5 separate regions of the Homo sapiens genome follow, and regions 1, 2, 3 and 5 are each linked to region 4. Evidence: promoter capture Hi-C in human tissues and cell types (Jung and others, 2019). All regions are on one chromosome and are shown on one strand. The core of a region is centred on a gene start or on the middle of the fragment in contact, and the rest is flanking DNA. Distances in the headings are between cores, read along the strand shown. Region 1 overlaps GRIA1 (glutamate ionotropic receptor AMPA type subunit 1). Region 2 has its middle 200 kb from the start of LINC01470. Region 3 overlaps LINC01861 (long intergenic non-protein coding RNA 1861). Region 4 holds the start of GRIA1 (glutamate ionotropic receptor AMPA type subunit 1). Region 5 has its middle 21 kb from the start of LINC01861.

Region 1 (5,493 bases), core at 188-2,687, 270 kb after region 4:
GTTGGACTATGACTATTCTGATTCTATTTCCAATGTATTCTTCCTTCCTTTCCTTCTAGTCCACTATTTTGGTGGCCTTTGCCAGCCAGGAGAGCAATAATAAGGCAGTCTGAAAACATGTCTAAACCAATCAAATGTTTGCATCATGTGTATAAATGCATTTGCATTCATACATGTTTGCACAAAACATTTGCTGTGTATGTAATTGCTTATACATATTTGTGATTTTTGTGGGCAAGTGTTGACATATCTGTGTCTTTGTCATCATGTGTCTTGCTGTTATATATGTGTAAAAGGGAGTGTGAATACGTGCATGTGGGCTTTATCACCCCTGAAGGACAGCAACCCCACAGATCCATGTCCGTAATAAGGAACAAAATATGGAGTCTCTCTAACAACATTTGAATTCTCACATCTTGCTGACAGATGAGAAGGGTGCAATAGGGCCTGACCGCTCTGCTGCCAAGCCCCGGACCCGTGCTCAGTCCCTCCCCAGAGCTTTCCACAGTTGATGTCCATGCTGCTGATGCCTCTTCCCTTTGGCCTGCAGGTCCCTGTCTGGTCGCATCGTTGGTGGCGTCTGGTGGTTCTTCACCTTAATCATCATCTCCTCATATACAGCCAATCTGGCCGCCTTCCTGACCGTGGAGAGGATGGTGTCTCCCATTGAGAGTGCAGAGGACCTAGCGAAGCAGACAGAAATTGCCTACGGGACGCTGGAAGCAGGATCTACTAAGGAGTTCTTCAGGGTAGGGACATCCTTTGTCCCAAGACACTTTCACAAAAGGGAACCACAACTGTCATTAAAATGTCCTTCTCATTATATAGCCTGAGATAACAGGCAGCCAGAGCAAGTGCTTAACTGACTGTAAGTCAGGGAAACTCAGGACATTTCTAAGCTTTCTACCACCCCCCTGAGAAATCTACATTTCTACATTTGTAGAAGCTTCAAAGCTCCTGCATTGATTTGGATCCCTTGCCTGTATCAGTCTGTGCTAATGCTCTGAGGGCTGCAAAAGACATCAAATACAATTTCCTCTCTGTTATCACGGAAACCTTATAGTCTAGTTAGTAATCAATTAGGAACAGCTTACGGACAACAGCTGGACCTGATGCTCTTTGTGTCCCCTCCTATCTCATAGAAGGAGCTCAGTGAATGTTTGTTGACTTGATGAATAAGAGGATAGTATATGGGAAAAAAAAAACTGGAAAAGGTGATCTATTAAATGGTGCCAGGAGAGAGAGAAAATGTGAAGTGGGAGTGGAGGTGGTGAGATGTGTTTTGGCAGAAGACAGTGAGCGGAAGCAAAGGAGCAGAGAGCTTAGGAGCACAGCCTTCAAGTTCAGCAGATGGAGGCCCAGAACCTGGCTCCATCCCTTACTTGTTCTGTACACTTAGCCTCTGTGACACCATTTCCATTCATCCATGTAATGAGGAGAACAATGTCTATATCAGAGCTTAACAAGACTAAAAGAGATAGGGTATCTAAAATTAGAGGCAAAACAAGGAACAATCAGTGGAGGTTCCATATACCATTAGGACTTCAAGGAAATGCAAACCTTTGGGAGTCATTCTGAAGAATGGGTAGAGACTAAAGCCATACAGGGTAGACGTGTAAACATTTATAGATATCACAAAGCCAGGGTAGACCTGTAAACATTTATAGATATCACAAAGCCAGGCCAGACCTGAGTAGGCTAAGTACAACCTAGACAAAAGGAACAACTTGGACAGACACCGAGAAGCAGGAAAACCTGTGGTTTCCCTGGACTTTAGGGATGTTTATCCCAGGAGTTGAAGAAACAGTACATGGAACTACCATCTATGGATCAAATAAGAATAATAAGAAACATTTGCTACCGCCTACATATGAACCAGGTCCTGTGCTAAGCACACCCTACACAAATTATCTCATTTAATCCTCTCATTAAAGATGAGTTAGAGATTGTCCCTATTTTATAGCTCAGAGTTAGGATAGGTCCCCATTTTATAGATCAGAAAATTAAAAGAATCACCTAAGATCACACAGCTAATTAGTAGCAGAAGGAGCAGAGACAGCACGCTGCCATATTGCCTCAGGCAAAAGAGAAGGGATCCTGTACAGACTCACCTAGTTATCTCACTACAACTTCTTGGAGCAAACTCCAGGCCCCGAACAAACCACTGTGGGAGATGCTGCAGGTTCTTGACCATGGGCTTTGTATTCTGTATGACAGACAGGAAAGGGAACAAAGCCTTAAGCATCATTGATCCTAACTCCAAGGCTAAAATCATCAATTTTCAATGTGTCAGAGCAGGAAGGTGCCTTAGAGGTCACCTAGTCAGAGGCTGTCATTTTAGAGAGAGGCATTACTTGCTTAAGCTCACCCAGCCAGTTAATAAAAAAGCCACTTACAATCTCATTACAATTCCCTGACATTTTTAGCCTGCAACAAAAGTGTGAAGAAGGTGCCTGTTTCTACTTGTCCATAAAGCCTGTCCTATGCCCCAACCCCTGCTAATGCAGTTAGGGAACCATCTAATTCACTTAACAATGCTCTCATCCTTATAGCATAGACAACATGCACCAGTCCTCAAAGTACTTTTGCACCTATGGTTTCATTTTTGTTTCACCTGTGACCTCAGGCAGAAGAGGTATTTGTGGCAGCCACTTTGCGGATAAGAAATTAAAACTTGGGAAATTCTTTTGATGCAAGTGTCAGGGGTGGGTACCAAATCTGAGTTTTCTTGTTCCAATCCAAGTATTCCTGTCACTGAACCACATGGTCTTAATGTGGTGGTGTCATTAAACTGACAAACATTTTTAAAAAGATCACTCAGGATGACAGCTGGGCTTGTGGACACATCTAGTCTAACTGTACCATTTTATAGTTGGGAAAACTGAGGCCCAGAGAAGAAAATGGTCATGCCCTACCTAATGAGAGGCACAGCTGGGATTTAAAATTTCAAAAGTCTTTGTTAATCACTACGTCAGTTGACATATTACTGCCTCTTGTCCACAGCACAAAGTTAAGAACCTGGAACCAGGGCAGTGCATATTCTACAAGTTCTGTGCCCAGGCCTACTACATTGGTGACAAATTGGTTGTAGTCCATGTACTTACTTTGACAGGTCAGTAGTGGTTGCCTAGAGATTCTGAGGTCACATCTGGGCTTGATGTGAAAGGATTCTTTGATTGATATCAGTGTCTCTCATGTATACAGGAAGGGAAACTGGTACCAAGAAAGCCAGGTATGAGGCATTCCTACCCTAAAGTAAAACCTGAAAAAAAAGGCATAATTATTAGTAGTCATTGCACTACTTACAGAATGCCTTCTTGTGCCAGGCACTGGGTTATGCCTGTGTTCTCATATAATCTCCACGGCAACACTGTGAAGTGCACAGTATTATTACTATTTTCAGAAGAGGAACACTGAAGCTCAGAAAGGTTATGCTACTTGCCCAACGTCTTTCAGCTAATAAGATATAAAGCCTAAAATGAGGGAGGCAGCTGGTTGCAGTGGAAAGGCACAATGTGTGCAATCAGGAGGTCAGGGACTCTTGGCTCTGCCACTAACAAACTGCATGACATTTGACAGTTTATTGCCACATCATGGGCCTCAGTTTCTTTACCTGTAAAAGGAGAGTACTGCCAAGATATGTCCCATGCATAAGCCTTTCCATCTCTGTGACTCTGACCTTGGATAATTATCCCACCAGGAGTTTGGTGGGTGGGGAGATAAGGTTACCTACCACCCCCACAAGGCAAAAGGAGGGAATAGTGAGACAAGAATTCTTCTACTCCAGTCTCTGAAAAAGCTGGCTTCTTGTCCCCATGACAGCCCAGAACTTCTTGGCAGCCCCAGCCCAGAGATGCTTAATCCTCCATCGACAGTTTAATTAAGATGTATGAAGAGTCATGGGAGCTGCGGATGATAGGAGAGATCCAAGAACAAATACCCTGAGTATGCTTCCAATCTTCCCTGCCACTCATGCTACCTTCACATTCCTGGAGATTAGATTTTCCTGATAGTTCATCCCAAGTGTCTGTGTGCACAGCCTTAACATTTGGGGCACTGGGGTGAGGCTGAGAGGACATATTAATTTTCTGCATACTGTTGCCCAGAAGGCTCCTCAGCTCTGCCTGTCAACAGCCCAGTTCCCTGCTGTGTCCATACTGTCAGGTCAAATTGCATCTTGCAATTGCCCTGCTGTGTGTTTTGTTGATTTGTGCCTGGAAGATTATCTGCAAATCTGGTCACAGCTGAATTTATACATTTTCCTGTTTCCTGTGAGAGAATATTAAATACATTGGCAGACCTTATGATTAGTTCTGGGTATTTCCTCCCCTAACCTTGGAATCCTCCCTCCCTTTTCTCCCTTCTTTCTTCTTCTTTCTCACATTGACATTGTTGCTTGAATGACGTATCTTCAGGTAAAGAATCAGATACTTCCAGCTAGCCAGGGACTTAAAGATTATAATGCCCAAACTCCCTATGGAATGGATGGGGAAACTAAGGCCCAAAGAGAAGGGACTCTCCATAAACAAACCCATGAGTGAGAAGTAGAACTAAGACTGATATCCAGGGCTCCTCACAGCCAGTCCAGTGTCCTTTCTAGATTGTAAACCGGACTGTAAAACGAGTGATATAGTTTATCTAATTATAGGCTATTAAAACTGAAGTTTTAATAGCAACTATTTCCATTACTTTTCCCTCAAGATCTATGATTTTCCTGGGCCCCGAATGTCTTTATTGATCAGCTGACTCAAATGACAATTGTAGATCAATATCTTACCAACAGTTGACGTGCGCTAATATCAAGGAAATAAACCTGATACTTGTATACAGAAAAAAGTGATATGCTGCATGTATAATGATAATTTTATATTAAATAAATCTGAAATCTATATATTAACAACTGAATTATATAGAATATATGACTCTAGCAACAACTATTTTTAAAAAGTAGTCCGTTACATGTATTTAACACTTGTCCATTTAGAAAACATTTGTAATAGCCAGACTGTAGTATCCCTAAAATACATCTACCCTTTGGGAAAAGGTCACCGTTTAGAAACAGTATGCTAGATGAGAAGTTTGATCATGGTCCTGGATCATGGGCCCTGACTAAGGGCCTACCATGTGCAAGGTACTCAGTTAGACCCTGTGACGGACCCACAGGAGGGAAGACATTCCCTCAGGTAGCTTCCACATACTTGAGACCTACATACAAGGAGAGATGACTTGCAATCTTTGCAGTCTAGCCTGGCCATCCAGTGAGTGCCCCAGGCAGTGTGTCCCATAAGAGTATCAGCCCTCACAATACTGTTTCTCAAAGTGAGGACCATACAGGCCATACAGATCAGAATCATCTCTTGGGGACAATTCCTAAAAAAGATGTATTCTAGGTCCCACCTCAGAATTGCTGAATCAGAATCTCTAGATTTAGAGCTAGGGAATATGCATTTTTACAATCGATGTACATGATAATGGTGCCTACTAGAGTCTAAA
Region 2 (5,593 bases), core at 2,467-4,966, 320 kb before region 4:
AGCAGATCTCTTCAAGAGGGGCTAAAAAGAAGATTCAGGGAGAAGCCAAGTGACTCTTACTCTTAGAGGTAATCCATACCCATTAAGATACCACAAAGAAAACACACCATAATTTTAAATAAGAATCCAACTCATCATAAAACCAGAGGCCCAAATTTCAGGGCTTTATTTGCCACTGAGCTGCTTTTCACAAGGTAAGTGCCCCAGGAAAAAAAGATGTGGCAAGAAGTGCTTTACTTAGCAATGATTGAAGATCTTCTAGCCAACAGTGTGGAGTGTGGCCAGTATCTCCACAATTAATGAGGAGTGAACATGTGAGTTCTGACTGTCTAATGTCTTGATTTCCCACAATAGAGGCAAAGTCAAAATGTGAAGGGATGGGGACCTAGATAATAATTTCACCTGCTTTAGGATTTCCCCTACTACTAACCTGAAGAAATATGGAAGATGTAGTTTAATGTCACTGTATGTACTCTAGTATGAAGAAAAGCCATTCTTTATTCACATTTTTGAAGGCCACATTTAGGTCATAAATCTCTTTAAAAATGTGATTTTTATTTTGTTTTCCCATTACTTTCCTATTGAAATGGGCTATCTCATGTTCATGCACTTGGAGTTCCAAGCAGGTTTTTGCCCAACATCTATTCTGGAGAGGATTTCACCCTTGAGTGAGTTTAGACTGGATGACACTGGAGGAGCTGTCTTCACTCAAAAATCTTATAGTTCCCTACCTTCCATAGCTTTCTATCAATGACTGTTTATTTGTTATTCTAGGCACTCTTTCTGCACTAGAATATTTATACGGACTCCCCACATTGCTAGGGCAGGAAACAGACTTGCCCCAGCTTTTCTTATTAAAGGCATATTATGTACACAATTAAACTCAACAGGTGAGAAATACAAGACCACAGCTAAGAGTGTTGGCCTGTTGCCTAGGCTCCTTAAAAAAGCTGTATCAAGAAGAGTTTATTAGGGAAGACTAGGAATCTCCTAGGAACCACCATTTGTAATAGCACCCTCCCCCCTTTTATTGGCCTTTTGAGAAAATCTGAGTGGTCAAAACAGTTACTTTGTAAGTCTCAGCTCCCTCCCCTAATACTCGTGTTAATTAAGTGAAGTTTCCAAATGAAGGCTAAGATTTTGATTCTTCTAGACATTCTCAGAACATCTTAATATATTGCACTTGAGAAATTACTATGAATTCCTAAAGGTTCAGATAGTGGATAGGGTATAGATTTTGTAGTCAGATATATGCAATTTCAGATCTTAGTGTTGCCACTTACCCTTCTAGGGCCACTTCCTTTTTATCTCAACCCTCTGAACTGTAAAATTAGGATAATGGTGTTTACTTTCCAGGATTATTGTAAAGATTGAGCACATTTAAGATTCTGATTGCAGGCCAGGCGCAGTGGCTCACACCTGTAACCGAGCACTTTGGGAGGCCGAGGCAGGTGGACCACAAGGTCAGGAGTTCGAGACCAGCCTGGCCAACATGGTGAAACCCTGTCTCCACTAAAAGTATAAAAAAATTAGCGGGGCGTGGTGGTGCGTGCCTATAAGCCCAGCTACTCCGGAGGCTGAGGTAGGAGAATCACTTGAACCCAGGAGGCAGAAGTTACAGTGGGCCGAGATCATGCCATTGCACTCCAGTCTGGGCAACAGAGCAAGACTCCATCTCGAAAAAAAATAATAAGATTCTGATTACAATCTCTGATACATAATAGACAGTCACAGGTTTCCCTCTCTTGTCCTGCTATACTCAACGATATTACCACATACTTGGAGAGACAAACTTTAGTCACTTGGAAATTTCAATACAAACGGAGGACCATAAAGGAGTTGAAGAGTAGTGCTGCCAACTACAAGTACTACATGATAAATTCTTGTACATTATCATCATCATCGTTGTCATCATGGTTAGTTTAGCAGGTGCTACCTCACCTGTATCCCTTAGGGCTTTATCATTTCATTGCTTACCAGCTTGTCTTCCAAATGTGAGTGTGCATCTCTTTTGCTGCAACTTTCTCCTGCCTTTGGAGCCCACTCTGCTTACCGACCTGGCAAGTTAGACATGCAGGGGATTAATGTCTTCAGCAGCATCCCTCAACCAATCATTGACAAGAATTGATGGGCAAGTTGTTCTCAAATTTGAGCGAGCATCAAAATCACCTGAAGAGGCCTTGTTAAATCACCACTGCTGGTTCCACCCCCAGAGCTTCTAATTTAGTAGCTCTGGGGTGGGCTTGAGAATTTGCATTTCTAGTAAGTTTCCAAGCAATGCCGATCCTGCTGGTCCAAATACAGCACTTTGAGAACCAGTGGGATACCATCTTTTCTCAGGTAGTGCATGTTCTACACTGGCAGCATTAATGTGTTAGGGCTGCCATAACAAAATACTGCACACTGGGTGGCTTAAACAACAGAAATTATTTTCTCACAGTTCTGGAGACTAGAAGTCCAAGATCAAGGTGTTGGCAGGTTAAATTTCTCCAGAGACCACACTCCTCTCTCCTTGGCTTGCAGGTGTCCTCCTTCTTGCTGTGTCCTTACATGGACTTTTATCTGTGTAGGCATATCCCTGGTATTTCTCATGTGTGTCCAAATTTCCTCTTTCTGTAAAGACATGAGTCAGATTGGATTGCAGCCCACCCTTATGATCTCATTTAATGTTAATTACCTCTGTAAAGGCCCTGTCTTCAAATATAGTCACATTGGAATTTAGGCTTCCACATCTGAATTTTGGTGGGATACAAGTCGGTTCATAACACTGGCTTTTAGAATTCTTCAGGCAATTAAGCTCCAGAGATGCACAGTGATAACTTGTCTAATAGTGCATCCTTGGTCTGTTTTCGCTTCTTTGCCTCAGTTGTTTCCCGGAATTATGTTCTAAATAAACCACATGTGCTTAATTCCTTGTCTCAGGGCAAGCTTCTGTGACATCCTAAACTAAAACAATCAGTGTTCATCTATCAAATCCTTACTTTAAAAAATTACATAATACTTAAATCTGTATAGATAATGCCTAGACTTAGATGTCAAGAGATAAATTACAATTTCAACTTTGTTGCTCACTCATTGTGTAATCTTTGAACACTAAGTGAATCTCTCTAAGCTTCAATTTTATCAAATAGTAAATGCACATATTAATTTCAGCCTTGACTAACTTCTATAGGTAGCATGAAGACATGTATCACTTACAATTCTTTGGTCGTAAGTAACAGAAAGCTGTTTTAGCTAGCTTAAGCAACAGAAGGGTCTTTATTAGAAGGTTATCAGGTAACTTGCAGAATTAGAAACTGGTAGGAACAATAATGTTCTATATAAGCAGACACTACTTGACTCTCTCACTTGGAAATAGTGCTGATGTAGCAGAGGGTCATGAGAAGGCAATATCAGGACTATAAACCCACAAAGAACATCAACCAAGGGTGTCAATAAATTTAATATGTTCCAGATACAGTGTGCTGACTGTACTATTGAGTTAGATACCATTTAATTCGATAAGATCTATCATCAATCAGGCTAGGGGGACTTTCACTTTTGCATGTATACTTCAGATTTGGGGGAGCTCAATTTCAAGCAATCTTCTGACATTTGTGTCCACTTAACGAAAAAAACCAGGAGTAGAAATGCACCATGCAGATGATAGCTGTTAAATATTGTTCACCACTATCTTATGTATCACGGGACCCATGTACTTGAAGAAAAGTAAAATCTTATTTTTTAATGATACATGTGTCACATCTGATCATGACGCAATCTGTCAAAACATAAATTTTATATTTATTGCAACCCTAATGAGTGACTTCTAAACTTGTCCTCATGCTGGGTGACACCATGTTCAAGATTTATAGTCTTAGAATAGATTCTGATTGGAAAAGCTTGAGTCACATGACTTTGGCTGTGCAAAGGCATCAAAAGGAAGGATCTGAAGTGATAAATCTCCTGTGACATTTTGGTCTCTGCACTAGAAAGGCAGAGTAACTTCATGTATAGTCACCAAGACATCACACGACAGGCAAAAAGTAACTTCTTATACCCACCACGCCCCCACCCAACACACACACACACACACACACACACACACACACACACACACACACACACACACACACCCTGCAATTAGAAATTAGAAAGAGGGATGCAATTAGAAAGAGGGACTTGGTGTTTGGTGCTGCATAGCTCCCAAATGACCAGTCTTCATTATAGAATCAAATGAGGAAACGAAAAGCACTTGTGCTTTTAAAAGCATATAGTCCTATATTAGTATGGGAAGGTTATTGTTGTCCTCCTGCTAGTGCATATACAATACTTATTATTTATTTTTAAAGACAGGGTCTCACTCTGCCACCCAGGCTACAGTACAGTGGCATGATCATAGCTCACTGCAACCTTGAACTCCTGGGCTCAAGTGATCTTCTCCTCTCAGCCTTCTGAGTTGCTCAGACTACAGCCGTGCATTTCCATGATCATCTAATTTTTACAGTTTTGGTAGAGATAAGGAGGTCTCACTCTCTTGCACCTGTTCATCTCAAACCTCTAGTTTCAAGTGATGCTCCTGCCTCAGCCTCCTAAAATGCTAGGATTACAGGTGTGAGCCACCAGGCCCAGCTTACAGTAATTACTAATTATTGAATCGAAGAGTCTTAACGAAAAAGTCTAAGCAGGGAAACTGAAAAAAAAAGTGTTGAATTGGTGGCCGGATTAACTTTCCTGGTAATGAGGTCATCCAGAGAATTGCTTCCACATGCTATAACCCTCTGAAAAAGACTATGAAGGAATGCGGGTATTACCTATTAGGTAATATCCTCTTTGATATTTTCTAGAGAGCTTGGCTTGGTGACTATGATATTTAACTTTGTTAGGAGTGGGGCATGTTGTGTTCTATCTCTCCTTTAGTTATAACCTTGTGGTGGGACATAGGCAAGTTCCTTCCACTTCCTAAACCTCTGCTTCCCCATCTCTAAATAGAGGGTTGGATTAGATCTTTGTAGCTTGAATCTCATATCTCACAATTGAAAGCTGAGTGAGCAATAAACAGACTCATTGCAGAGTCAAGGAGCCAATATGCTAGAATGGGTTCCCATAAAGCTGAGGCCTGGGCTGGGTAGACAGTAGATCAAAAAGAAAGAGAGAAAGAACGGCAGGTAGCCACCACTGTAAAAAACACCATGGACTTTCATGGGTAATACCCTGGCTTTGAGAATCAAATTTTGCCCCCACCCACAAAAGCCCATTCAATATTTCCATCAAGATGTAATTGTCCAAGCCTGTACCATATATTGATCCTGAACACATTAGACTAGAAAAAACAAACTTAAAATGAAGCACAAGGGGAGGTGAAACTCTGGCTCTATCTTCACCACTTGCTTAAGTATAATTTTTGCAGTACTATCATTTGTGTCAGGAAACTGCAGAAACAATGTTGTCTTCATAAAAATGTGTGTGGGTGAGGGAGGTGGGGAATTATTTATCAGATGCTAGCCTTTTTAAACACTGTATTGATGATTTGTCTAAGACTCATGTTTCCATGACACTGAATCAGACAAAGGTAATAATGGCAATGGCAGCTTGTGAAGACTTGCAGTCTGAA
Region 3 (5,788 bases), core at 2,312-4,811, 400 kb after region 4:
GCCTTTGCTCAGTGCCTGGTACATGCTCAACAATTTGATAAGTATTTATTATTATTAGTGGGATACACGCTGGTAGAACTTGCCACTGTATCTCAATATTTGTGTGCCAAAGACACACAAATTTCTCACTGCTGTCAAGTTGTCAAATGCATGGGTAGAAGAACCAAATTCCAGAGAAGCCAAATGACCAACCCAAGGCAATTAAGGAGAAGGGTCGCATGATGACTCAGCCCTTCAGTGCCCACCCAGCTGCTCACTACATTTCACCAACACAGCAGCCTCAGTTATACTTTGACCATTCACCTCCAAGCAAATACCACTGTACTTTGAAAACAAGGGTGGGAAGGGACCAAAGAAGTCCTTTGAACAGTCCTGCAGCATTCAAAAGAGTCCGTATTATGTACCTGCTATATATCATGGGTACAAAGATGAATGGTCCATGCTCACTGTACCCTTGAGGAATTCACAGGCTTGTAGAGAAGACAGTTATAAAATTATAATCTTGAGGGCCATCTGCCTACCAAATGAAACAATTTACTCAGCTCAGGGAGTCAGGGACAGGAACCAGAGAGAAAGTGACACCTGAGCTGACTCTTGAAAGGTATTGAGTAAACCAGGAGATTGGCTTGGCTGAGCAGAGAGTGATAAGACTGAAAAGCACAGCTCATGGAGGGTCTGAACCCCTGAACCAAGGAGCTTGGCTTGATGGGCAAAAATGAGGCATGGAGCAGGGAATAACCTGCTCAGAGTGACATTTGGCAAGGTCACTCTGGGTGCAGGCTACAAGGATGTGAGGGAGCAGGACCAGAAACAGAACAACCAGTTTTGAGCCTACCTTGCAAGTCCAGGCAAGAAGCAACAAAGACCTGAGCTATAACCATAAGGGAGGGCAAAGAAAGAAGAGACTGATTCTGGAGCCTCTGGTGAGGAGAATCTGAACCATGTAGTGACAGTGGGATGCTAAGACAAAGAAGAGAGAGAAGGGGCAACTGCTGCGCTGGGTCTGCCTTTCACCAAGGGGGGAAATTGAGAGAAAGTGTAGGCAGGAGCAGGGAAGGAAGGCAGAGTTCATCACAGAAAAAGAAGTAATCGAGCATAGTGCTTTCCAATTGTGTATCTTTTTTCTTTTTTCTTGGTGATAATACTTTCAAACTTCTGTGACAAAAACCAGATGAAATGAGAGATGCCACATGTGAAGGGAAGGAAGGAACAGAGGCCATTCCTCTCCTCACAGACCCCAGAGAAATGAGAGCCATTCAACTCCTTGGATCTTTGATCTGATGAAGTCGAGGCTGAGTTCTTAAGACCAGGTGAATGCAGTTTGAAAATTACTGCTGTAAAGAAAAAAACAAATCATCCCATTAAAAAGTGGGCAACTGATATGAATAGATATTTCTCAAAAGAAGATATACAAATGACAAAAAAAAGTATGAAAAGATGCTCAAAATTACTAATCATTAGGGAAATGCAAATTAAAACCACAATGAGACACCACCTCACTCCAGCCAGAATGGCCATTATTAAAAAGGCAAAAAACAATAGATGTTGGCATAGACGTGGATGTGGTGAATATGGAATGCTTATACACTGCTGGTGGAAATGTATACTAGTACAACTGGAAAACAGTGCAGAGATTTCTCAAAGAAATAAAAGCAGATCTAACATTCCATCCAGCAATTCCACTACCGTGTATCTATCCAAAGGAAAAGAAGTCATCATATCAAAAAGACACCAGTACACATATGTTTATTGCAGCACAATTTACGGTTGCAAAGATATGGAACCAGCCTAAGTGCCCATCAACTGATGAGTAGATAAAGAAAATGTAGGTCAGCCGCGGTGGCTCACACCTGCAATCCCAGCACTTTGGGAGGTTGAGGCGGGCAGATTGCTTGATCTCAGGAGTTCAAGACCAGCCTGGGCAACATGGTGAGACCCCCATCTCTACCAAAAATACAAAAAAAAAAAATTAGCCGCATGTGGTGCCATGCACCTGTAGTCCCAGCTACTCAGGAGGCTGAGGTGGGAGGATCTCTTGGGCCCAAGAGGCAGAGGTTGCAGTGAGCTGAGATTGCACCACTGCACTCCAGCCTGGGTGACAGAGCAAGGCCTTGTCTCAAAAAACAGAAAGAAATAAAAAAGAAAATATGGTATATACACACCATGGAATACTATTCGGCCATACAGAAGAATGAATTAATATCCTTTGCAGCAATCTGGAGCTAGCGGCTATTATTCTAAGTGAATAACTCAGGAATGGAAAATCAAATACCGCACGTTTTCACTTATAAGTGAGAGCTAAGCTATGGGTACACAAAGGCAAACAGAGTGGTATAATGGACACTGGAGTCTCAGAAGCCAGGATTTGGAAAGTGGGTGAGGGATAAAAACTACATAGTGGGTACAAGGTACGCTACTCAGGTGATGGGTGCACTAAAATCTTAGGCTTCACCATCATACAATTCATCCATGAAACCAAAAACCACTTGTACCCTTAAAGCTTTTGAAATGTTTAAAAAGAAAAAGAAGGGAAAAGTAAGCTTGTGGTGTGTGAGCCCACAGGAGGCCGCAGAGGACAGGGCCAGGAGCCAAGAGCAATTGCAGCAAATCCAGACTAGAACCAGGTCTTTGAGAGCATTTTCCACCCTCCACTACCCAATAGCATATAGTCCATCTTCTATCCCTCCTCACAAAATTATGAAAGTGGTAAGACCCAAATCTACATTACAAAAGAGGCCAGAGCTTTGGCCCTCTCTGCCCCATCTCTGTAGTGCTTCTGTTCCTGAACAGGACCTTACCAGCCTTTCCCTTCTTCTCCCCCAGGCCCACCTTGTTGACTGAAACCACCCCAGATCCCACAACAGCCTAGACCCCTCCGTCGGCCCAGCCACCCCAGCACAAACAGCATGAGAGTTGCTGCTGTGTCTCTGCTACCACTATGCCAGGCTGCCTTTCTGTTTTCCCTGGGCCTGATTATCTTAAGCTACCTCTGGGGCCCCACCCGGCTGGGCCCAGTGTTATCTCCTATGCACAGTCATCGTCTTGCTAAAAGGCAATCAGAGGAGCTGACTTTAATAAATGTTAACACCCTCAATGTGAAGTCTGGCAATTAAAACTCCTCTCCAGGACCTCTGAAACAGGCCTGTGGAAAATCCCCCATCTTAATAAGCTCCAATCATCAGAGGACGCTGAGAGAAAGCAGGGATAAGGAGAAGTCACTGAAATTTTCAAAGGGGAGGGAAGCAACCAGGAAAGGCACCTTCCTCCATTTCTCATCCCTCCCTCTGAGGATCCCACTCCAGGCCAATTTCATCCAACAGGCCTGAGAAGCAAACAGAGGCTGATCAGGAAGGCCTTAAGGGTCATCTTGTTCAGTGGTGTTTAGATTTTTGGTGCATTAGACTCACCTGGAGGGCCCCTTAAAACACAGATTGCCAGGGTTTAGTTTCTGATTCAGTGGGTCTGGGGTAGGGCCTGAGAATTTGCATGTCTAGCAAGTACTCAAGTGCTGCTGCCACTAATGGTCCAGGGACCACAGTTTGAGAACCACTGATCTAGCTCAATATCATCATATTACAGATGGTGAAACTAGGCCCAGAGAGATAGGAACTTGCTCAAGATCTCATATCTAGTTAGTGCACCCCATTTGAAAGGATCAAAGCAAATCTCTTGAGAGCAATTCCCAATTGTATGTTTTAAATTTTTTTCTCCATAGAATTTTAAACATTGGGTTTATTAACAGTCATCACCACGGTCATCATTATCCTGAAATGAGATCTTTGAAATCAAAGGAAGAAATAGTTGGTAGTTAGCATGCCAAGTAACAGGACAGCCTGCCTCATCAATACACAGGAAGCCAAATTGGAAAAGAGTTCTCCTAAGTGAGTTCTTTGACAAGATTTCCTTTCTTTCTCCTTCCTTTAGATCAGATTAGAGGCAGGTTAGATTAGATTTAGGTCCAGATTGGATTTCAGGGCCCTTAGACATCACTTAGTCCCCTGATCACCCAAACAAAAAAACATGCCATCATATTATTCTTATCACTTATCAGTGTCTGGAATTCATACTTACTTGTGTTCTTGCTTCCCACAATCTCCTCCACTAAAACCTATGTTCATGAGAGCATGGACATTCTCAGGGCCTGGCATTTACAAGCTTTTAATAATTATTTGTTGATTAATTAACTGAGAACCATATTAGCTAGGAAAGGATTCATTAATCTGATGAATTTATTGACATTTGGCAGGGATTTGAGTCCTGAGGCCATAGTCCGAGAAAGATGTGATCAGGTAGAAGGCAGGAAAGTTACCCTGGCACCAAGATCCCAAGAAGCAGCAGAAAAAAATGTTGCCACAATGGAAAAGAGATTCTAAGGGCCAATCCCAGCCACTGTCCCTTACCCCCGCAACACACACACAAGCTCTCACACATATTTTCACACATGCCCCACACTCTGCCTCCCAAGAAAAACAGCTTAGCAGCTGAGCTATCCAAATCACACCATAAAGATCCCAGACAGGGGAAAAGATCATCCACTATAATTACCATGTAGGAGCTTTCATATGGCACCCTGCTAAAAGCAGGGAAGCAAGACGGATCAGAACAGACAGCTTATTAAATTATCCAGTGCATCAACTCAATGAACACTTCCAAATGGTTTTCTTTTCCTCTTTTTTTCTATCCATGAGTTTTTAATGTTTGCTCTCCTTTCTCCACTGTTTAGGATTCCCGTTAGGTGTTCAGATCACTGCTTTCCTTCTGCCGGCTGCTGTCTCTTATCATCCACCTTCCTGAATCATTCACATAGAGTGGGAGATACAGCATGTCATGTTGCAGACTGGACCCAGCTTTTGAAGTTAGAAGACCCACGTTTGATCGTGGTTCTTCTGTGTGATCCTGGGCATGCTATGAATTTGCCTGAGCTGTGGATTCCTCAAAGGTAACATAAGGGTGATAGCACAACTCAGTTTGGGGCAGAGATTAGAGGGGATGACATATAGCAGCCCACTTTCCAAACTGCCAAAAGAGGAACAGGTGTGAGCTGCCAGGACCATGTCAGGATGGATTTTTGGCCTTTGTCTAAGGCACAAAATCATTTGGCAAGTGCTAGGAAGAGGTCCTCTGCCTCCAGATAGTGCTACAGAAATGCACTACACAAGAGCTTTCAATTTGATTAACAAATATCCACCTTGAAAATGCAAATAGACAGGTGAAAAAAATGCATCTGTCTACCTTCCAGTCATCCTCATTTTAGTGTGAATCTGATTAAAAGCATTCCTTTCCATGAAAGGGCTAGATGAGCCCTGCCTGGATGAAAGAATGAATCATCTGGTAGAGTTTGGGCAATCAGGAAGGAAATGTTCAAGCCTGGGAATACTACGAAAGTGAGTTTGTTAGAATCCGGGTGGCTATAAAGAGAAGTTAAATTCTCTAAGCCCCAGTTTCCTCATCTGTAAAATGAGGGTAATAGTACCTACCTAGAGTCATTATTAGAATTAAATAAGGTAAAGTATGAACCACTTAGTGTGAGCATAGCACAAAAAAGAACTTAGTGAAACTTAACTACCACTACAGTTACTAAGAGTGGTATCATTATTATAATAACATTTATTTTTATTACTACTTCTACTAGCTGTCAATAAGCAGCATATGGCCCTCTGAACCTTGCTTGGAAAGATGCCCATCTTTCAAAGCCTCTTTTGTATCATTAATCTATTGCTGTTTAATAAAGCACCTCAAACTTGATGGCCTAAAACAACCATCATTTATTTTGCTCATGAATCTGTAA
Region 4 (5,538 bases), core at 2,392-4,891:
AATTTGAGGAGTAGGTGCCATGCTGTCTCTAGAGCACAATTTGAGCAGCATTTGGAGGCTTTTCCAATGGGATGTCAGCCACCTGGAGTTCCTCCATTAGATACTTAACTGCTGGACTTTAATGAGCACCCATCTTCAGATATCCCACTTTAAAATATGAAAAGTCTTAAAAGATAATCAACTTAATTTTTCTTCAGTGTAATATAATGGGAGGGACGCTGCAGGGTCCTGGTGCCCAGTCCCTGGCATGCCAATCACTAGTCCCCTTAAGGAAGGTTTTTTGGCCTCAATGCTATTTATATTTGGAACCAGATAATTCTTTTTTGTGGGGTGGATGCTCTGTGAATTGTAGGATGTTTAGTGGCATCCCTGGCCTTCACCCATGAGATTCCAGGGGTACAATTCCATAATTGTGAGAACAAAAAACATCTCTGGACATTTTTGCCAAATATCCCCTGGGGGAGAAAATTGCTGTCAGTTGAGAACCACTGTCTTAAGCTAATCATGTAGCCACTTTGAAGACTTTGCCACTTTGGGAATGGCAAATAGGACTGGGGACTCTAAAGAGAGACAGCATGATGAGCTAATAAAGGATGACGTCAAATAAGTTATTTAGGGAAATGAAGCTGTTTGGTAGGTAGTTCTAACCTTTGAGGATGAGGAAATGAGAAAATCACCTTCTACCAGTGGTCAATCTTTTCTTTCTCATGCACATGCCCGCTATTGTAACTAGCATACTAAAAATGCCCCCATGGCTCATCATGGTCCACCAGGAATTCAGTGGGTTCCAAATCCTGACACTGACTTCCTCTAAGTTCCAAGTTCCCCAGTACACTCTTCCCAGTTATGCACTGCCGGCTCCAGGCTAACAGAGCACGTGGCATTCTTTCCTGCCCCCAGCCTTTGCTGGGGCTCTTTCCTTGGTTTGCATGTCCTTCCCAGTCCTCAGTTACTGCCTATAATCTCCTCATCCTTCACGGCTCAGTTCTTTTGAAGCCTTGCTGGATCCCCACAGACAGACACACTGATTGCATCCTTCTTTGCTCCCCCGCTGCTGTGTTTACATCTTTTAGAGCACTTGTCATGGTCTTTCTGGGTGACAGTTGTCCGGGTTCGTCTGTCTTCTTCTTCTGCCACATTCACCTGCCTTGAGGCAGAGACTGTGTCTGATTCCTCTTCATATTGCCCAGCACCTGGCACCCTGTGAGATACAGAATAGGTTCCCCACCAACATTTGAAATGAAGAGAATTATAAAGAAACATGGAATAAACATTGAACCTAATGTAGTTTGACCTAGATGCCTACACTTGAAATATGTAAGTTCTATATTTAATCAGTGAACAACTATGTATTTAATAGACCAAGGGGAGCTATTGACCATACTTGAGCAGGGCAATGACGTAGACCTCTGTTTTAGGAAGATCTGCTTGACTATATGATTTATAATGACCATGGAAAATTCATCTTTTTGACTCCCTTAAAAGTCCCCTCCCTACAAAGTATGCAAAACAAATCTTACCTAATGCAGGGGGACATTGAGGTTTTGCTTGTAAAGGGTCTAAAGAGCTTCCTCTAAAAGGTGATTGCAAGGTGTGAAGCCTTTAATGACAGCCTAATTATTATTATTACCAGGCACAAAGCTTAGGGAACCTAAAAGATCCCCAGGTACTATTCAAAGTAGTAAGATACAAAAACTGAAAATGGAGAAATTAAAAGATGGAATCATTAAATCAGAGACTCTTAATGTTGGCAGAGACCTTAGAAGTGATCTTTCCTGATTCTGTTCTCTCATCTTCCTATGCTGATGCTTATTCTTCCTTTAGAAGGTTCCTACCCAGTGCTTGCTGTTATTAGAGCCTAAGAGTTAAGAGCTGGGGCCTGATGGTGGCATTTACTGTGTTTAAATGCCCAATCTCTTTCATTAGCAGTGAAAACTTGGGGTGAGTTTTTAGACCTCTGTTTCTTCATCTATAAAATGGGCATGAGGCTACCTACACAGGTATTGTACAAATAAATGATGCAGGTGCATTTCTTAGCATGGTACCTGGCACATTCAAAATAGTGAATAAACATTAGCCTTAAAAATTATTTTAGCTAATTAATTAATATATGTGAAAGTGCATAGGAAATCACAAAGCATTTGACCTCCAAGTTGTTCCTATTTTGGGGCTTCATTGTACATGGTCAGATATTTTTTACAAATCCCAGTCCTTGTAGCTGTCACTCAAGTCCACATGATATACAGTCCTGGTGAGGGAAGTGAAGAGTCTGTGGATAAAATGGCCTATTCATATGGCAAAGCAAAATGGAGTCCAAAGTCTATTATTTCTTTCTTACTAAAGACAAAGTTGACTTTCCTTTTCCTGGATCATCTCCTGTTGGACAGGAGTCCTGGCCAGGGCAGTAAGTCAACTGGTAACGGCCAAAGCACTCAAGTTTGTAGGTTGTACTGTACATCTTAGTAGGTCTGTGTCTTTATGACTTAATCCCAGAAGTCTTATCTTTTTCATCTGTAAAACAGGGCTCATGGCCACTTTACAGGTTTGGAGTGAAGATAGATGGATAAAAATCTGTAAAGTTCCTTCAAAAACTGTATTCTGTGGCGGCTAGTGGCTGCTGCTTTGCATTTAACACTACTATCCTGAACACAGCTGATCTCTCTACAGGTTATTTCAGCAGAAGCCCTGGTCTAGGAGAGTCTATGAAGTTCCAGCTTACACCAGACATGACCAGCATCCAGAAAGACCTGAAAGAAGCTTGAATCCTCTCACTAGAATCCCTGCAAAATGACTCATGTAATTGCTCTGTGTAAGTATCCTTAGTCTTTATTGTACACCCACACGATTCTGATGCTATAGACTCCTGTGGAATGCAGGGAAAGAGAGAAGGGGGCCCATTTTAAATGCCTAGGATTGAAAAGAGACCACCGTTTCACTTGTAAAGGTAGACAGGGACTGTCAAATACCTGGTCAAAATACCTGCCAGTCACTCCAGATCCTCCCTTGTTTGTCTATCTGTCATTCCTTCCATTAGGAGAGAGAAAGCTTTTTTTTTTTTTTCCTTTAAATTTCCTAGGAGGGATTTCTAGGGTCTTTCCCTCAGGAATTAGTTGTAGGAATAATTGGGCCAGTGGAGTGCAGGAGATATATCCAGCGCAGCCCATGCACTCCTAGAAAAAGTGACCTAGATCAAGCAGCTGGTGGATTGAGGACTATTGTGGGGACCCCCTGCCACCTACTGACTTACAGCTGAACCCACATTCCCAGCAGCTTCAGCCTGGGGGCTGGGGGAGCGGGCAGACCGAGCTCAGAAAGGCAGGGGAGGGTAAAGAGGACTGTGGGGTTGCCCCTTTCAGGACCAAGTGCCACGTGTCACACACCCCCACCTCCACCTTTCTGCACACACAGAAAGGAGGATAAGGTGAGGATGGGAGGAAGGGGGAACAGGTAGGGAGGTCGGCTGTGGAACTCCAAGCTAGCTCGGTGGGTATTAGCATAGAGCTTGCTGCCTGTGTGAGTGTGAGGGGGAGAGCGAGAGAGAGCAAGGGAGGGAGAGAGAGGCAGGCTGCGAGGGGAGAGGAGAGGGAGTGGGGGAGCCAGCGCTCCAGCTAGCATGAGGACGGGCTTCTTTTCCCGTGCTCAGTTAATCTGGCTGTCAGTTGGTGTTAACGCTGCAGTTTAAGTGTTCGGATTCCAAGGGAAACAGACAAACCTCACGAAAGGAAGGAAGCAAGCAAGCAAGGAAGGAACTGCAGGAGGAAAAGAACAGGCAGAACAGCGAGAAGAATAAAGGGAAAGGGGGGGAAACACCAAATCTATGATTGGACCTGGGCTTCTTTTTCGCCAATGCAAAAAGGAATATGCAGCACATTTTTGCCTTCTTCTGCACCGGTTTCCTAGGCGCGGTAGTAGGTGCCAATTTCCCCAACAATATCCAGATCGGTGAGTGAGGGGGCAGCCTGGGGAGGGACTTTCTGGGTCTGGCCAGGGATTTTTTTGGGGATAGGGGTTGTGTACCCCCTCCCCGGTACTGACTGTTTTGCTTGGCTCCCTAAAGCTGTGCTGCGGTAACAGAAGGGAGACTTGGGCTTACAGCCAGAGGAGGGGGCTTCTCCTGATCGGATGAGGGGCAGAGGGGAAGTGTTCACACACGCACACATACCCTACTCGCACTCCAGGCAAGAGCATGTGAAATGGAGGAACCATCGCTTTGGAGGAAAAAAAAAATCAGGCTGGAAAGGGTGGTGGGTGTTTAAGGAGTTAACTCTATTGCTTGGTAGATGGTGCTTGATTCCATTTTTAATGTAAGTATGTATGGTGTGTGTGTTTTCACGTGTGTGATTATATATTACATATGCACATATATATGTAATTGAAGGAGGCAGTGCTTTCTCTGCTGGGGGACAGAAAAGAGACCCTCGAGAAGAAGGAGTGAGGGGTGCTGGGTATATTGCAGCCACTGAAATAATGCCAGAAGGCCCCCACTCCAAGGCGGGTAGGCTCCCTCTCCTGTTCTGGACTCCTCCAGCTGCCTTCTCTTTGCTGTCTGCCATGCTGCGCTGGTGGTCTCCACTCCCCCGATCCTGGAACTTCCTCGCCTGCCTTTTCTCCGTTCCTTCCTTGCCCCCTCCTCTTAGATTTCCTATCCACAGAGGTCTACCTTTTACACACACAAACACACACACGTACACATGCTCCTTTCTCCTCCTGTTGGCTCTCCATTATCCTTGTTACTGGGCTCCATCCTCTCAACTTGGAGGCAGGTTTCAACATGCTGCATGCTTTTTTTGTTCCCCATTTCCCCTTCTTAGTTGTTACACTTCTCAAAGGCCCCGCCACCCTCCCTGTATTTCTGAGGGGACTGACAGATATTGCTACTCCTGATAATCATGAGGGAAAGCAAAACAAACAGAAGCAATAACACCAATCACAAAGCATGTCCACAAGGGCTTGGGGCTTCCGTGTGACCAGCATGTCAGTGTCGTTTGTGTCCCGGAATGAAGCAAGCTGCTGTGTTTGGAAGCATCTTCGTTGGTTTGGTTTCTAGTCTCTCTCCCCTGGTAGGGAGATAGCTCCACTAGGGAAAGTTCGCATTGCTGGGAGTTTGTGCTCTTTTGTGAGTGTGTGTTTGAGGGGGGATGTGGTGCAATTGATATTTTGTCGGGCATACATGTGCTGCAGTACCCATCTCTTTCAGCCTCTCCAGCTAGCTGGCGGCTTGGAGTGGCCATGGAGTAACTTGCTTTGTTTCCTGACACCTGTTAAGCTACATCCTGAAGTGTGTACGTATCTGTGTGTTAGTGCCTAACACGCAAAACTTCCTGCCTTCAGGGGAGACACTTCCCTTGTAGCCCAGCCCGTAGCCTTCTACTCCTCAACCTCCCATCCTTTCTCTTTCATTCATTGCAGAGGAGGAGAAAGGGGACAGGGAAGTGTTTGGGGTGTGGTCATCTGGGGGGAAGGGGGAGCATCATAATCAAGAATTTTTTTTGTTTTCATTCTTTAAAATGGGAGCACTTGTACATGTGGAAATCACTG
Region 5 (6,346 bases), core at 643-3,142, 430 kb after region 4:
CAACAAAGGTGGCAGCCTACCTGTCCTGCCTGGCACTCCCTCTGTCCCAGGGACAAAGCAGGCAGGGGTGGCTGGAGGCCCTGGCTGGGAGGTCCTGCCCAGTGAGGAGGAATGGATCAGGGTCCCAGTTAAAGAAGAAGTCTAGCCACATTTTGGTAAAGCAGTTGTGTTGCACGGGAAGTAGAGGGGGGCATTCCTTCCTTATCCGGGCTATCTGGACTATCCAAGGCCCACAAGCTGGAATAGCCTAGTCGTCCAAACAGCAAAGATGGTGGCCCTCCCCTCCCCCTGGGGGATCCATCCCATCTCACACAGGCTCACCCTATTGCCAATGACTGGCTAGAATTCCAGGCCAATGGGTTTTATCTTGTGAGGTGCTGGTGGAAGTGGGGCCCACAGACCAAGGCTGCTTGGCCCCCAGCTTCAGGCCCTTTCCTAGGGGTATGTACAGACCTCCCACCTTGCCTGAGTTGCAGTCACCTTTATCAGAGATTCCGGGCCGGAATATGTAAAGCTCCTGGGTCTCTGTGCATGCCTAAGCAGCTGCTCTGTGGAGACTCCACATAGTTCTGTGTGTTAGACCCAAGGCCCTGGTGGAGTGGGCTCATGAGGGGATCTCCTGATCCTAGGGTTGCAAATATCCATGCAAAGATCCATGGAAGAAGTGGGGTTTCCCAAGGTCACACATTCACTCACCATTCCCCTTGGCTGGGAATGGGGGTTCCCTTGGCTCTCTGTCTCTCCTGGGTGGGTTGTCACCCTGCCCTGCTTTTCTTTGTTCTCCATGGATTGAATCATTTCCCTGATCAGTCCCAATGCGAGTACCTGGATATTTCACTTGAAGGTGCTGTATTCATTCGCCCCTCTGTTTCTCTCCATGAATGCCCCACAGTAGCTGCTTTTAATCAGCAATCTTGCTCCATTTACTGGAATGTTTATAACATTCTGCAATGAAGCAGAAACTAATCATGAAAATTTTTGGTGCCACACCGAGATTAGCTAATTATTTTATGAGAAAATACCAAAGAGTTGTTGAAATCAAAGTTATTCTTTTTTAACACGAAATTTTAGGTCTAAAAAACTAGAATCTTGCCAATCTGCTATTTTCTGGGATGACAACTAGCTGTCAGTTTATACTACCCAATATATATTTTCAACAATGACCAAAACAATTCACCCTTCAAGGTAAATGTGAAATTTTCAAAATGTATTTTTAAAAATTAGCTGCTTTAAAAAAAAAAAGGCCGGGTGCGGTGGCTCATGCCTGTAATCCCAGCACTCTGGGAGGCCGAAGCGGGCGGATCACGAGGTCAGGAGATCAAGACCATCCTGGCTAACATGGTGAAACCCCGTCTCTACTAAAAATACAAAAAATTAGCCGGGCATGGTAGTGGGCACCTGTAGTCCCAGCTACTCAGGAGGCTGAGGCAGGAGAATGGCGTGAACTGGGGAGGTGGAGCTTGCAGTGAGCCGAGATCACGCCACTGCACTCCAGCCTGGGTGACAGAGAGAGACTCTGTCTCAAAAAAAAAAAAAAAAAAAAAAAAAACCTCATGCTAAAGAGAAGGCATTTTGAAAAGAGATATTGGGAATGTTTTCTCATTGTATATTGCCTAGATTGAGTTCTGAATAAAACTTCACTTTGTAAGCTGGATTTTAAAAATCTTCCAAATGAAGAATTTGAGTGGTTTTAACCTAGTTTTAAAGAGAAAGCAACAACTAATTAGCCTCTAATGAGATAGAAATTTACTAACCAAATTTCAACTAAAACCTGTATGTAAAAGTGGTGGAGGGAATTTTAAAATGAACATTATGATTTACAAAATACATCCAATTATACCTTTCTTCTCAATGGATTAACATATTTCTGTGCAGTATCTTTTTTATTTTTATACTCATTAAAAAGCAAGTATAAAAATAAACTGAACTTGGACAAGAATTTGTAAATATCTAAGTCTTAAACCAAGCATAGCTCAACTGCATTGATCTCCCTAAAATATTAATACTGCTTAACTACTTTACATGCTATGTGAATAATATTTAACTGAGAGCAAAAAACATTTATTTTTAAATGTTTTATTTCAGCTCTTATGCTTTTAAAATGTCTGTTTGCTGTATGTTTTATAATGTACCAAATATCTAGTACAGTGAAATTTGAATGCAATCTTAAAATAAATATGCACACATTTAAGATGTGTGCTCCACAATATTTTACTGAGACAAAAGCTGGTACAGAAAGCTTGGCAGTCTCTGGTCTAAAGACTCATAGCTAGGGGATTTGGAAACCCAGGGCCTAGAAGCACTCTTGGCCATGGTCATATTTGCCAGAGTCAGAAAAGCTCGGCATTAGATGCCAAGTCCCTGCCATGGCAGCCAGCAGATAAGAACAACTAAGCCATGTGAGTTCTCTGAATGCAGGGAAAACCCCAAGGGTCACTCTCCAGTCCTATCTCAATTCTAAAAGGCTACAAGCTTTTTGAAAAGCTTCACAAAGTTTAAAACTTTGTGTGGAGCTAGTGTCCAGCCATGTTAATCCTCTCCTTGAAAATCTCAAAATATTTCCCTTGCCCAACGTTTACAATCCATGGATCTTTCCCATTTTCCACTGAATTTCTCTTACCAAAGAAGGAATAAATTTTACAACAAACTCACATTGTCCTTAAAGATTTTAGAGTACATCAATTCAATGGTAGAGTAAGTAGCCATTAAAATAATAAAATAGATATTTATTGATTGAAATGATGTAGAATGATGTTTATGATAAATTGTAAAGCAAAAAGCATATGTACAGAATATGTACAAAATATACGTACAGAATAACTGCAACAAACATACACACACACACACACATACATATTTCTAACTGTAGTTATATCTGAGTGATGGGATTGGGGTGAATTTTTTTATTGCTCATTTGTATTTTTTTCCATTACAAACTTGTATCACTTGTATCAGGAGGAAAAAGGCTGTTGTCTTTTGTTGTTTTGTTTTGTTTTGTTTTTTGAGATGGAATCTTGCTCTGTCTCCTGGCTGAAGTGCAGTGGCACAATCTCGGCTCACTGCAACCTCCGCCTCCCGGGTTCAAGTGATTCTCCTGCCTCAGCCTCCAGAGTAGCTGGGACTACATGTGCACGTCACCATGCCCAGCTAATTTTTTGTATTTTTAGTAGAGACGGGGTTTCACCATGCTGGCCAGGATGGTCTCGATCTGACCCCGTGATCCGCCTGCCTCAGCCTCCCAAAGTGCTGGGATTACAGGCATGAGCTACTGTGCCCGGCCAAGGCTGTTTTTTAATTGAACTGATCCAAATAGGTATTCCCACTGAACAGCCCCTAAGAGGGGTTTTACTTGAAACAACGAGAATAACAATCACCCTTACTATAGAACGATAGTTTTGTTTTAAAAGCCTTTTTAGTCCATTACCTCCTTCATCTCTGGCAACACAATATTCTTAAAGCACCAACAACCTGAAATTGTTTCTCCCCTGCTCAAACCCCCTTCTAAAGGGGTCTACTATTCCAGAATAAAATCCAAGATCATTTGTATGGTATGCGGACCTCTTATAATCTAGCCTTATCTTACCGCTTCGGCTTGATTTCCTTCTGCTTCCCACCTCCCCATATATTCTAGCTACCCTGTTCCTGAATCCATCATACACTTCCCTGCCTCTTTTTTATCTTTTCTCTCTAGAATGCCTTTTTTATATGTTCTACTTTATAAACTCCTGTCAGTTCTTTAAAACTCAGATCAAATGTTTCTCTATTGAGAAATTATTACTCACACATAATATTCTCTCTATCCTCACAGCGGCTTTCATTTTCCTTTGATAGCACACTTCCCTAGGGGACAGCAAATCCCTCAAGAGCAAGGGCTCTGTTTATTCAATTCTGAATTAACACTAACAACAATTCCTGGCATACAGGTGACATCAATAACTAGTAGGTTTCTTAAAGAAAAGAAAGGTACCTTTGCACAAGACATAGGAAAGAAAAAGTTACATTAAGATAGGATTCTCAAAAGACATGGCTAGACTTAGTAAGGGAAATCTCAGTGTGGTTCAATGATAAGTGATAAGACAAGCCCAAGCAGGAAAACGATATAGCAGCTGCTATATTTGAATCATCCCACCCAACCAGCACACCCAAAGGTCTCACCTTCTCTCGACAAGATAGGAATTTGATACTTTTCATGTAAGTTTGGGATGCTAAAGGCAAAACAAAACAAAACTTGGTGGGAGCTTCCCGTGGTCCTGAAGCTATTGAACTCTAGCCACCCATTTCCCTTCATTTATGAAGAAATTACTGATGCCCTTATGTGGTAATGGAACTGTTTTAGGCTCTAAATTAGAAATATAGTGGTCAAAAAGACAGATAACAGGCTGGGCGCGGTGGCTCACACCTGTAATCCCAGCACTTTGGGAGGCCGAGGTGGGTGGTTCACAAGGTCAAGAGATTGAGACCATCCTGGCCAACATGGTGAAACCCCATCTCTACTAAAAATACAAAAATTAGCTGGGCATGGTGGCATGCACCTGTAATCCCAGCTACTTGGGAGCCTGAGGCAGGAGAATCACTTGAACCCCGGAGGCAGAGGTTGCAGTGAGCCAAGATTGCACCACTACACTCCAACCTGGTGACAAAGCAAGACTCCATCTAAAAATAAAAATTAAAAAAAAAGATAGATAACAGCTCTGCTGTGTTTTTGGAACTTACATTCTAGTTGTGGACAAAGACACTAGACAATGAAAGAAAAGCTATACCAGATTCTGATAAATTGCCAAGAATTAGAATAATGTGACATGAAGATAAAAAGTGGTTACTTTATTGGATGGTCGGGAAAGGTCTCTCTGTGAAGGCAATATTTAAGATGGAGTCTGGAAACAAGAATCTACCAGCCAAACCAAGAGCATTCCAGACAGATAAAACATTGTCCTTCTCCCTAAGGGGAGAATGAGCTTGTTATGTTCGGGAAAGAGACAAAGTCAAAGTTGTTGCAGCATGGTAAACAAAGCAAACAAGATGACGGGGGTGTGGGGAGAGCAGGTGTATAATCAAATAAGGCTTTTTATGCTAGGGTAAGGAATTTCAATCCTTTCCAACTGTGATGAGATAACTTGCTAACGAGGAATTTTCAGGCAGGACCAACGGATGGGTAGAGGGCTTTGACGCTCCTCTGGATTAATCCTGAACCTTAATCTTTAGGACTAGCCAACCACATGATTTCTCTGGTTATGGTCTTGATCCTAAGACCAAACTATGTAAAATTGAGTGTGGAGAATATGGGGTAAGGAGTATACACAAACAAGAAAGTAGATCATTTATAATTCTATAAGAGACAAACATAAAACCCAGGGTAGCCAATTTGGAATGTTGCTAATCAGACCACTAGAATGTAAGCTTTGGAAACACAGGTCCTTTGTCTGTCTTATTTATAACTAGATCTCCAGTGCTCATAATAGTGCCTGACACACATTAGGTGCTCAATATATACCAAATGAACAAACAAGTGAAGAAAATGAACAACAGATGTGGTAGCCAAGCCGATGTATCTTGCACATCTCCAGCTACTGGGAACTTTGTTTACCAAAGGCCACTGATGAAATTCACCAAGTTTCCCGTGGACTTCCGCCAACCGCTGCCCGAATGTGACACAGATACTGTGGCAGGCCCATTATGGAGACACAAGACTCCCTGATAGCCTTGGTGAGGCTTCCTTCGACTGCTCATTGGTCTATGATGCTTCCACCAGGCCTTCTTTCCTTCTTCCTTTACTAGGAGCCTGACTTGCCTGTTAGTCTGATAGATCTCCCAGCCTCTCCTGCTTCCCTCTCCAGTATTTCTCCAAGCACTTCTCCTAATTAAATCCCATCTTGGCTTTTGCTTCTTGGAGCACCCAGACTAATGCAAAAGATCTAGAATACTTTCAACTGAGATGCAAACTAACAGAATCTCTTGCTCATCCGGTATTACCTATTTATGTACTTCCTTCCCAGGCAGGAATTAAGCAACCCTGAAGCCAAAGAGAAGAACAGGTCTATAATTGCTCCTAAACAGTAAAAGGGAGATGTTGAAGAGATACTGAAAAAGCATTCTTTTATTTCTTCCTATGTCCTGATATATAGAAGCTACTTTATATCCTAGTAAAGTCTTACTTTAATGTCCTTAAAAAGTAGGCTCTTTATAGCTGTAATTTCCATAACTCAAAGTCTTTGATCAGAAAGCAATTTTTTTATCTAGTCTCCTGGATTCGTTGATAAAAGAACCAGTGATTTCTGTGCTGTACTCAAAGATATACAAATCTCTAACACATCCTTGATCAAAATTTATTCTCCCAACATCCATGTAA

What was found. Contacts are between HindIII fragments. The study calls those that stand out against the background at their distance.
Region 1: a contact is called between a fragment that was not itself captured here and the fragment with the promoter of GRIA1 in region 4, in 1 of the 25 tissues and cell types used here (hippocampus).
Region 2: a fragment that was not itself captured here is called in contact with the fragment with the promoter of GRIA1 in region 4 in 1 of the 25 tissues and cell types used here (dorsolateral prefrontal cortex).
Region 3: a fragment that was not itself captured here is called in contact with the fragment with the promoter of GRIA1 in region 4 in 1 of the 25 tissues and cell types used here (mesenchymal stem cells).
Region 5: a fragment that was not itself captured here is called in contact with the fragment with the promoter of GRIA1 in region 4 in 1 of the 25 tissues and cell types used here (mesenchymal stem cells).

What each region holds. Positions count from the first base shown.
Region 1 is chr5:153,763,884-153,769,376 of GRCh38, forward strand. GRIA1 (glutamate ionotropic receptor AMPA type subunit 1) reads left to right here. Exons shown (of 16, transcript NM_000827.4): 12 at 551-749. Among named protein-coding and RNA genes, the nearest start is that of LINC01861, 130 kb to the right of the region's middle. The HindIII fragment of the contact is 4,664 bases long and covers 1-3,769 here.
Region 2 is chr5:153,165,804-153,171,396 of GRCh38, forward strand. No RefSeq gene overlaps it. Among named protein-coding and RNA genes, the nearest start is that of LINC01470, 200 kb to the left of the region's middle. The HindIII fragment of the contact is 5,193 bases long and covers 1,121-5,593 here.
Region 3 is chr5:153,890,996-153,896,783 of GRCh38, forward strand. LINC01861 (long intergenic non-protein coding RNA 1861) reads right to left here. Exons shown (of 4, transcript NR_146729.1): 3 at 4,546-4,790. Among named protein-coding and RNA genes, the nearest start is that of LINC01861, 5.1 kb to the right of the region's middle. The HindIII fragment of the contact is 5,127 bases long and covers 999-5,788 here.
Region 4 is chr5:153,487,029-153,492,566 of GRCh38, forward strand. GRIA1 (glutamate ionotropic receptor AMPA type subunit 1) reads left to right here and starts at 3,642. Exons shown (of 16, transcript NM_000827.4): 1 at 3,642-3,942. The coding sequence starts at 3,861. The HindIII fragment of the contact is 6,455 bases long and covers 169-5,538 here.
Region 5 is chr5:153,917,014-153,923,359 of GRCh38, forward strand. No RefSeq gene overlaps it. Among named protein-coding and RNA genes, the nearest start is that of LINC01861, 21 kb to the left of the region's middle. The HindIII fragment of the contact is 4,095 bases long and covers 1-3,940 here.